Linked DNA regions of Homo sapiens: region 1 is linked to region 2. Evidence: promoter capture Hi-C in human tissues and cell types (Jung and others, 2019). All regions are on one chromosome and are shown on one strand. Each heading gives the region's core, a stretch centred on a gene start or on the middle of the fragment in contact. The rest is flanking DNA. Distances are from core to core; before and after follow the strand shown. Region 1 overlaps GRIK5 (glutamate ionotropic receptor kainate type subunit 5). Region 2 holds the start of LIPE (lipase E, hormone sensitive type).

The links. The method cuts DNA at HindIII sites, captures the fragments that hold promoters and counts their contacts. A contact is called where the count stands out against the background at its distance.
Region 1: a contact is called between a fragment that was not itself captured here and the fragment with the promoter of LIPE in region 2, in 2 of the 25 tissues and cell types used here (H1 embryonic stem cells and liver).

What each region holds. Positions count from the first base shown.
Region 1 is chr19:42,012,590-42,018,039 of GRCh38, reverse strand. The region is part of intron 15 of GRIK5 (glutamate ionotropic receptor kainate type subunit 5); the gene reads left to right. Among named protein-coding and RNA genes, the nearest start is that of ATP1A3, 21 kb to the right of the region's middle. The HindIII fragment of the contact is 6,690 bases long and covers 1-5,450 here.
Region 2 is chr19:42,426,051-42,431,311 of GRCh38, reverse strand. LIPE (lipase E, hormone sensitive type) reads left to right here and starts at 3,924. Exons shown (of 10, transcript NM_005357.4): 1 at 3,924-5,045. The coding sequence starts at 4,163. CXCL17 (C-X-C motif chemokine ligand 17) reads left to right here. Exons shown (of 4, transcript NM_198477.3): 4 at 2,331-3,034. The coding sequence ends at 2,428. The region is part of intron 1 of LIPE-AS1 (LIPE antisense RNA 1); the gene reads right to left. The HindIII fragment of the contact is 15,228 bases long and covers 125-5,261 here.

The sequences.
Region 1 (5,450 bases), core at 1,919-4,418, 410 kb after region 2:
GCCCAGCCGGGAGTCAGTATTTCTAAGGTTTCACTCTGACCATGGCCCCCATCCCTCCCAACTCTCCCTTGGTCACTTGGTGCGATGAGTCCTCTGACCTCCCTGTTTCCATTCTCTGAGCCCTTCCTGCTTTCACTCGTCCATCTCCAGGTGGCTCCTAGGCTGTCTCTGCAGCCATTGTCCTCAACTTTTCCCTAGGTCCTCCTTTCCTCACGCCCTCCTGGCCAGAAAACCACAAAACCTCAGATCTAGCCAGTAGCTTGGCTTTGCCTGCCTTCCCCCAACCCCAGCTGCACCAGGCGCACATGCGACCCCTTATCCATGCCTCCAGCCTCTGTCTTACCTCCAGGCAGCATTCGCCCGGTTAGCCACCCTTCTAGAAACTCTCTTCTTGCTTCTAGGCTCTGTGTCCTCCTGGTTTCCTCCAACCTCTCTGGTCCTGTTTCATTTGCTGTGGGTTCCTTTTGCCTTTGCCACCCCTCAAATGGGGCTTCTCACTCACACTAGTGAGTTTTCAGTGCTTGCAGACCCAACACCCTCTTTTTATAACAAATATTTTTTAATACGTCCTTTTCCACACTGAGCTGAAATTCAAGGGTAATATATCTTCCTACACACATAATTTGTAAAAAATCAATTTAACGCCATAATTGCAATATGAAGGGGAAAAAGCAGGGAAGTGACTTCCAATAAAATAATATTATGGCAATACACAAATGCCTGGGTGTGGCTATGCCAGAAGACAGAATGCGACAGTCGGCGCCTGCTTAGAATGAGTAAGTGGCATGATGAGAAGTAAGATCATTTAACAGAATTATGTTGCCACTTGATATCTGACACATCGAAATAGTTGACAAATGAGTATGTTTGTGCAAATACAAGTCACTGTGAACGTGATGATTTGCTAATGCAGCTGGTGCAAGGGTCTTGACTTGGGTCTTGAGTTCGAGTGGAGTTGCTGTCAGAGACAGATGATTTCCCCCAACGGTGAGCAGCTCTCAGCAAAGTTCCAAACAAAACAACATCCAGTCATCCCTCGATTAAAACAAGAGGTGCATTTCTGGAGATTTTGGTTTATATTATAATCATGCAAAAAAAAAAAACTTGGGTTTTTAATGTACCAAGGAGTTAGGCTCAGATAATCACAGAACAGGTATTCCCCATTGTTCAGACCAGGCCTCGAATTATCCGGCTGTCCTACGCTGAGCACCAGTGGCCCACACTTTACCAAACACCTCCCAGGGTGCCCTCCCTGCCAGAGACCACTGTTCCATACACCTTGTCAGGGGCCATCTCACCTGCTGCTGGACTTCCCATGCTATGCGCATACTAACACTTCCGAAGTCATCTCTAGACCCCTCCATGTGTCCAGCCCCCTGGGATTGCTCCTCTTGGGAGCTCAACAGGCATCTCCAAACTCACCTTGTGCAAAACAGAGCTCATGTCTTTACTCCCAAATCTGACTCCCAGTCTGTGTTCCCTCTGCTGCCTTAGTGAGTGGCCCCATCACCACCACCAGTCATCCACACTGTGTCCTCAGGGGCCAGAGGGTGCATGGTGTGTACCAGGCACTGAGTAATTTTTGTTGTTGTTGTTTTGTTTTTATTTTTTTATTTTTGAGATGGAGTTTTGCTCTTGTTGCCCAGGCTAGAGTGCAGTGGCACGATCTCGGCTCACTGCAACCTCCACCTTCCGGGTTCAAGCGATTCTCCTGGCTCAGCCTCCCGAGTAGCTGGGATTACAGGTGCCAGCCACCACGTCTGGCTAATTTTTTGTATTTTTAGTAGAGACGGGGTTTCATCATGTTGGCCAGGCTGGTCTTGAACTCCTGACCTCAGATGATCCACCCACCTCGGCCTTCCAAAGTGCTGGGATACAGGCGTGAGCCACTGTGCCTGGCCAAATAATTTTGTTTTGCATGAATGGCAGCATTGACCTGTAAGATGGGTTTGGAGAGACTTGGTTTCTGGAGAGGTTGAGTCAGTCCCTGGGTCTTTGTGTCTTGGGGTTTTGGTTTTATTTTTCAGGAGGCTGTTTAATTCATGTCTCTCTATCAAGCCCTCACTCCATCCCCATCCCAGTGCCTAGCATAGCTTTGCACATGTGTTCTGTGGAGGACATTGCTGTTTTCATTATTACGTGCTGGGAATGTGAGGGTGGGAGGTCTGGGAGGCCCTTTTCAGCATCTCCTCTGCCTTCAGGCCCCTCAGATCTATATGGTCTACAGGGACCCTGGCCATTCTTACTTGCCAGGAGGGAGGACAGAGGGGGCCACGGTAAGACAAGTGGTTGCTCTGGGGTCCTGCAGCCAGGCTGGTGGGAGCCTATTCTCCCGGGTCGGTCCTGTGTCACCAAGACAATGAGAGAAAACACTTGCATAGCACTTGCTGTGTGCCGGATGAACTCAGTCACTCTTCACAAAACCCAGTGAGGAAGGGCCTACAATTGTACTAACTTCACAGGTGAGGAAACTGCAGCACACTTCCAAGGTCACGCAGCAAGGCATTGATGGAGAAGACAGGATTTGGGGATTTTCCAGAGATCTTTCTATGATTGATTTCTAATTTAGCTCCATCGTGGTCAGAGAACATTCTCTAGAGGACTTTAATCCTTTTAAATTTATTGAGACTTGCTTTAGAGCTCAGCATATGGTCTGTCCTGGTAACTGTTCTATGTGGAGTTGCACTGAATGTGTTTCTGCTGTTGGTGGTGCAGTGTTCTATAAGGGTCCATTGGGGCCAGTAGGTTGATCATGTTATTCAAGTCTTCTCTATCCTTACTGATTTTCTACTTGTTCCATCAATTATTGAGAGGAGTTTTGAAATCTCACCCTGTAATTGCAGGAAATTTATCCGTTTCTCTTCAATTCTATCCATTTTTGCCTCATGCATGTTGAAGCTTTGTAATTAGGCGCACAAATGTTTAGGACTCTTATGTCCTCTAGGTGAATTGACCCATGTCATTATATAATGTCTCTCCTTATTCCTGGTAACATTCTGTGTTCTGAAGTTAACATTTTTTGATACTAATATAGGCACTCTGGCTTTCTGAGGCTTAATGTTTGCATAGCATATCTTTTCCCCATTCTTTTAGTCTCGGCCCATCTAGATTATTATATTTAAAGAGCATTCCTTTTCTTTTCTTTTAAATAGAGATAGGGTCTCACTTTGTTGCCCAGGCAGGTTTCCAACTCCTGGGCTCAAGTGATTCTCCCATCTTGGCCTCCCAAAGTGCTGGGATTACAGCTATGAGCCACCACACCTGACCAAGTGTGTGGTGAGTATTGGGGAGTGCAATGGTGTGATCTCAGCTCACTGCAACCTCCACCTCCTGGGTTCAGGTGGTTCTCCTGCCTCAGCCTCCCAAGCAGCTGGGACTACAGGTTCATGCCACCACACCCAGCTAATTTTTATATTTTTAGTAGAGGCAGGGTTTCACCATGTTGGCAAGGCTGGTCTCAAACTCCTGACCTCAAGTGATCCACCTGCCTCTGCCTCCCAAAGTGCTGGGATTACAGGCATGAGCCACCATGCCCAGCCCCAAGTGTGTTTCTTATAAACAGTGTATACTTAGGCCTTGGAGCAAGGTTTGGCCAATTTTTTCTGCATTGGGCCAGATAGTAAAATTTTTTTTTTTTTGAGATGGAGTTTTGACCTGTTGCCTAGGCTGGAGTGCAGTGGTGCAACAGCACGATCTCAGCTCACTGCAACCTCTGCCTCCCAGGTTCAAGCAATTCTCCTGCCTCAGCCTCCCAAGTAGCTGGGACTACAAGCGCACGCCAGCACGCCTGGCTAATTTTTTGTATTTTAGTAGAGATGGGGTTTCACCATGTTGCCCAGGCTGGTCTTGAACTCTGGAGCTCAGGCAATCCACCCGCCTCAGACTCCCAAAGTGCTGGGATTACAGGTGTGAGCCACCGTGTCTGGCCAGTAATTTTTCTTTTAAATTTTATTTATATGTAATAGTTGTACATATTTTTGGGAGTACAGGTGATTTTTTTTTTTTTTTTTTGAGATGGAGTCTTGTTCTGTCACTCAGACTGGAGTGCAGTAGTGTGATCACAGGTCACTGCAGCCTCAACCTCCCAGGCTCAAGTGATCCTCCCACTTTAGCCTCCTGTGTATCTGGGATCACAGGTGTGCGACGCCACACCCGGCTAAATTTTTTTATTTTTGGTAGAGACGAAGTCTCACTGTGTTGCCCAGGCTGGTCTCAAACTCTTGGGCTCAAGCAGTCCTCCCACCTCAGCATCCTGAAATGCTGGGATCAGGGTAATTGGGAAATCCATCACCTCAAACATTTATGTTTTCTCTAAGTAAAGATGCTTTTAGGCCGGGCGCGGTGGCTCACGCCTGTAAGCCCAGCACTTTGGGAGGCCGAGGTGGGCGGATCACGAGGTCAGAGGATCGAGACCGTCCTGGCTAACATGGTGAAACCCTGTCTCTACTAAAAGATACAAAAAATTAGCCGGGTGCGGTGGCGGGTGCCTGTAGTCCCAGCTACTCCGGAGGCTGAGGCAGGAGAATGGCGCGAACCTGGGAGGCGGAGCTTGCAGTGAGCCGAGATCGCCCCACTGCATTCCAGCCTGGGCGACAGAGCAAGACTCCATCTCAAAAAAAAAAAAAAAAAAAGAAAAGAAAAAAAGAAAAAAAAAGATGTTTTTAAATATTTATCTTTATTTTTATTTTTTTAAAGACAGGATCTTGCTCTGTCTCTAGGCTGGAGTGCTGTGTGTTTATAGCTCCCTACAGCCTCAAACTCCTGGGCTCAAGGGATCTTCCTGCCTCCGCCTACTGAGTAGCTAGGACTACGTGCCTGGCTAATTTTTTATTATTTTCATTTTTTTTTTTTTGTAGAGAGTTCTTACTTTGTTGCCCAGGCTGGTCTTGAACTCCTGGCCTCAAGCGATCTTCCTGCCTCAGCCTCCCAAAGTGCCGCGATTACAGGCATGAGCCACTGCTCTGGCCCTAAGTAAATATTTTGTACTTTGTTGATCATATGGTCTTTGTTCCAGCTACTCAATCTTCCATTGTAGTATAGAAGCTGTTGTAGATGATACATTAAATGAATGAGTGTGGCTGTGTTCCAATAAAACTTTATTTATGGATACTGACACTGAAATTTGAATTTTATATAAGTCATGTGTCATAAAATATTCCTTTTTTTTTTTTTTGAGGCAATATCTCACTCTGTTGCCCAGGCTGGAGTACAGTGGTACAATCTTGGCTCACTGCAGCCTCAACCTCCCAGGCTTAAGGAATCCTCCCACCTCAGCCTCTTGAGTAGCTGGAACCACAGGCACGTGCCACCCAGTCTGGCTAACTTTTTGTAGAGATAGGGTTTCGCCATGTTGCCCAGGCTAGTCTCAATTCCTGGGCTCAAGCGATCCACCCACCTTGGCCTCCCAAAGTGCTCGGATTATAGGTGTGAACCACTGCGCCCAGCCTGTT
Region 2 (5,261 bases), core at 2,675-5,174:
TATAAGGAATTGCTACAGACCAGTGAGAGGAGGGCAGGAAATACAACAGACAAACGGGCAAAAATACTTGAATAGCCACTTCACAGATGATGAAACCCAAACAGCTAATAAACAGATGCAATGGCACTCAACCTTATTATTACAAGGAAAATGTGAATTAAAACTAAAGTGAGGCCAGGTGCAGTGGTTCATGCCTGTAATCCCAGCACTTTGGGAGGCCAAGGCAGGGGGATCACCTGAGGTCAGGAGTTCGAGACCAGCCTGGCCAACATGGTGAAACCCCGTCTCTACTTAAAATACAAAAAAATTAGCCGGGCGTGATGGTGCACATCTGTAATCCCAGCTACTTAGGAGGCTGAGACAGGAGAATTATTTGAACCCGGGAGGCAGAGGTTGCAGTGAGCCAAGATCACGCCACTGCACTCCAGCCTGGACAACAGAGTGAGACTCCATCTCAAAAACAAAAACAAAAAAAATGGGGAGAGACATAAACATTCAGACCATAATATATACATAAAGTTTAAAAATGAGAAAAAATAAACTAAATTATTTAGGAATCTATACACATAGGTGGTAAATAATAAAGAAAAGAAAGTAAATAATTACTATAAAAGTCAAGATTATCACTGTGAGGGGGAGAGAAAGCAGTGATCAGAAAAGGAGGGGTGCTGTTGGCAATATTCTATTTCTTTCTTTCTTTCTTTTTTTTTTTTTTTTGAGATGGAGTTCTGCTCTTGTTGCCCAGGCTGGAGTGCAATAGCGCAATCTCGGCTCACTGCAACCTCCGCCTCCCGGGTTGAAGCAATTCTCCTGCCTCAGCCTCCTGAGGAGCTGGGATTACAGGGATGCGCCACCACACCCAGCTAATTTTGTATTTTTAGTAGAGATGGATTTCTCCATGTTGGTCAGGCTGGTCTCGAACCCCTGACCTCAGGTGATCTGCCTGCCTCGGGCTCCCAAAGTGCAGGGATTACAGGCATGAGCCACCGTGCCCGGACACAATATTCTATTTCTAAGCCTAGGTAGTAGTTTCATGAATATCTGCTTTATAACTATTTATTGAATTGCATGTATAGGTTTCTATGAACTTCTATAGATATATAATACTTTGCAATAATAGATTCAGTTGTTTTTTTTGCAGAGGGAGGGGCGCAGTTGAGACAAGGTCTTGCTCTGTCACCCAGGCTGGAGTGCAGTGGCATGATCACGGCTCACCTCCTGGGCTGAAACATTCCTCCTGCCTCAGCCTCCCCAGCAACTGGAACCACAGGTACACGCCACCATGCCTGGCTAATTTTTGTATTTTTGTAGAGATAGGATTTCGCCATGTTGCTCAGGCTGGTCTTTAACTCCTGGGCTCAGGCAATCTGCCCACCTCGGCCTCCCAAAGTGCTGAGATTATAGGCACAAGCCACTATGCCCGGCCAGATTTCTTAAAGGTGCCGACTAAGGCAATACGTATAGTATAATCTCATTTTTGTTTTTAAAATAAACCATTGTATTTATATACCAGAAGGTATGGAAAAATACGTAGCAAACTATTAACAGTGGTTAGCCCTGGAAAATGTGTTGTAGAGGCTGGGGTGGGAGGAGTCCTTTTACTTTTTACTGGATTTTAAAATTTTTTTCCACTGGATGAGTCTTATTTTTATAATTTTTAAAACTCTCATAAAAATTAAATGTTGGCTGGGCACAGTGGCTCACACCTGTAATCCTAGCATTTTGGGAGGCAAAAGCGGGTGGATCACCTGAGGTCAGGAGTTCAAGACCAGCCTGGCCAACATGGTGAAACCCCATCTCTACTAAAATACAAAAATTAGCCAGGCATGATGGTGGGTGCCTGTAATCCCAGCTACTCGAGAGGCTGAGACAGGAGAATCGCTTGAATCTGGGAGACAGTGGTTGCAGTGAGCCAAGATTGCACCACTGCACTCCAGCCTGGGCAACTGAACGAGACTCCATCTCAAAAAAAAATTAAATGTGAAGGCCAGGCATGGTGGCTCATGCCTGTAATCCTAGCACTTTGGGAGGCCGAGGTGGGTGGATCACATGACGTCAGGAGTTCCAGACCAGCCTGGCCAAAATGGTGAAACCCTGTCTCTACTAAAATACAAAAATTAGCCAGCCATGGTGGCAGGCACCTGTAATCCCAGCTACTTGGGAGGCTGAGGCAGGAGAATCACTTGAACCCGGGAGGCAGAGGTTGCAGTGAGTTGAGATCCTGCCACTGCACTCCAGCCTGGGCAATAGAGCAAGACTCCGTCTCCAAAAAAAAAAGAAATGTTAAAAATGGTTTTAACACTAGCCTCTCCCCTTTATTTGCACCCTAGGACACCAAAGGCACCACAGAAAGCCAAACAAGCATTCCAGAGCCTGCCAGCAATTTCTCAAACAATGTCAGCTAAGAAGCTTTGCTCTGCCTTTGTAGGAGCTCTGAGCGCCCACTCTTCCAATTAAACATTCTCAGCCAAGAAGACAGTGAGCACACCTACCAGACACTCTTCTTCTCCCACCTCACTCTCCCACTGTACCCACCCCTAAATCATTCCAGTGCTCTCAAAAAGCATGTTTTTCAAGATCATTTTGTTTGTTGCTCTCTCTAGTGTCTTCTTCTCTCGTCAGTCTTAGCCTGTGCCCTCCCCTTACCCAGGCTTAGGCTTAATTACCTGAAAGATTCCAGGAAACTGTAGCTTCCTAGCTAGTGTCATTTAACCTTAAATGCAATCAGGAAAGTAGCAAACAGAAGTCAATAAATATTTTTAAATGTCACAGATCAAAATTGTTTCCTTCAAATGGGGTCTGCCAATTCACAACCAGATGACCCATTTTACCCTATTCACTGCAGACTGAATCCAGATTCTACACATACTTATCCCCACCAAGACCCTCACTCTGTCTCCATTGGCCTACTTGTTCATCTTTCACTCATTCGACAAATCTTTCTGAGGTAAGAGCGAGGTGGGACAAAAAAAAAAAAGCATACCAATGAACCAGACACGGTCTTATTAAAGATAATATAGGTTTAAAAAAAAAACTTGGCACAGTTTCTTAGCACTTAGGCAGCCTTTGGTATTTATGACTACTATCATCACCATTACCACCATCATTATCAGTCATTGTCATCAGTGGTCACTGTCTTCTGTGAGTTTCCAATCTAGTACAGGATCATAGTTCAGGGCTAGAGAGATGGCATGGAGTATCTCAAATGCCATTCAGAAGGGCCTCAAGCTATAAAAGTGGGAAGGCATGACATTAGTTTTTAACATGAGAGTTAAATGATCAGAATGACAATATAAGGAAATTAAACTAGCAACCTGGCTGGGCGTGGTGGCTCACACCTGTAAACCCAGCACTTTGGGAGGCCCGGGGGCGGGGGGTGGGGGTGGATCACTTAAGGTCAGGAGTTTGAGACCAGCCTGGCCAACATGGCAAAACCCCATCTCTACTAAAAATATAAAAATTAGCCGGGCGTGGCAGTGCACGCCTGTAGTCCCAGCTACTTGGGAGGCTGAGGCAGGAGAGTCGCTTGAACCCAGGAGGTGGAGGCTTCAGTGAGCCAAAATGGTACCACTGCACTCCAGCCTGGGCAACAGAGAAAGACTTGTCTCAATAAGTAAATAAATAAATAATCTGGCAACCATTTGTAGGAATGAACAAAGAGGGAAATAATTATTACAACAACTACAGAGACTGCCCCCTGAATGACGCTTTCCTCAGACATTAGAAGGAAAGAGAAAAAAGGAACACTCATCCAGCATCTGGCTTCTGTCATCCCAGATGACACGGAGGCCTAAATTGGGATGCTTGCCTTATGAGAAGAAACATTTTAACGGAGTGGTGGGTGGGGTGGGGCCCTATTTATGACACAAGAGAGCAAGCCCCTCCCTTCTTGTAAGAGAGTGCTAGGCACATAGCCTCCTCCTATTCCTAATCCTCCCACCAAAGAAAGAGGCACAGAGTTCATTACTTAGTGGGGGCCAGCTGTGATCGGCCAACTGCCAGCTGCCTTAAAAAGGAAGACCAGTGATGCTAGGATGGAGTGAAACCCAAGAGGAAGTGCCATCATGAGGAATCAATGAGAGATCTGTGAAGAGAGAGGGCTGGGTGGGAGCCCAGAAGGATAGAACCTGGAAGATCAATATCTCCCGTGAGGGAAATAACAATGGAGCCAGGTTCTAAGTCAGTGTCTAGGTCAGACTGGCAACCTGAACCACACCAGAGGCCTATAACCCCGCTAGAGCCTGGGCCAGAAAAGACACCCATAGCCCAGCCAGAATCGAAGACTCTGCAGGGATCCAATACCCAACAGAAGCCTGCTTCAAACCAAAGACCCCTCACCCAGCAGGAGACCCCTGCACAACATGATGCTGAATCCCAGAAGGAACCTAGAGCCCAACAAAAATCTGCTTCACAAGAGGAATTTCTTGCCCCACAGAAGCCCGCACCACAGCAATCACCTTACATCCAAAGGGTGCTGCTCACTCAACAGGAAGCTGCCTCCCAGCAGGGACCTGGGCTAGGAAAAGAATCTATAACTCAACAGGAGCCAGCATTGAGACAAAGACATGTAGCCCAGCCAGGGCCTGGGCCAGGAGAGCCACCTCCAGCTCAACAAGAAGCTGAATCAACACCTGCGGCCCAGGCTAAACCTGGAGCCAAAAGGGAGCCATCTGCCCCGACTGAATCTACGTCCCAAGAGACACCTGAACAGTCAGACAAGCAAACAACGCCAGTCCAGGGAGCCAAATCCAAGCAGGGATCTTTGACAGAGCTGGGATTTCTAACAAAACTTCAGGAACTATCCATACAGCGATCAGCCCTAGAGTGGAAGGCACTTTCTGAGTGGGTCACAGATTCTGAGTCAGAATCAGATGTGGGATCATCTTCAGACACAGATTCTCCAGCCACGATGGGTGGAATGGTGGCCCAGGGAGTGAAGCTAGGCTTCAAAGGAAAATCTGGTTATAAAGTGATGTCAGGATACAGTGGGACGTCGCCACATGAGAAAACCAGTGCTCGGAATCACAGACACTACCAGGATACAGGTGAGTGTGAATCTGGAGGAATTGAAGCCTCTCAGGGACAGTCATTCATTTACTTAAAAAATACTAAAAACTTACGGTGTATCAGGTTAGCTCTGGTCATCCTTCAACAATCCTGAGATAAAGATCAACATCCCCATTATTAAAAAAAAAAAAAAAAAAAAAAAAGGCTGGGCGCAGTGGCTCACACCTGTAATCCCAGCACTTTGGGAGGCCGAG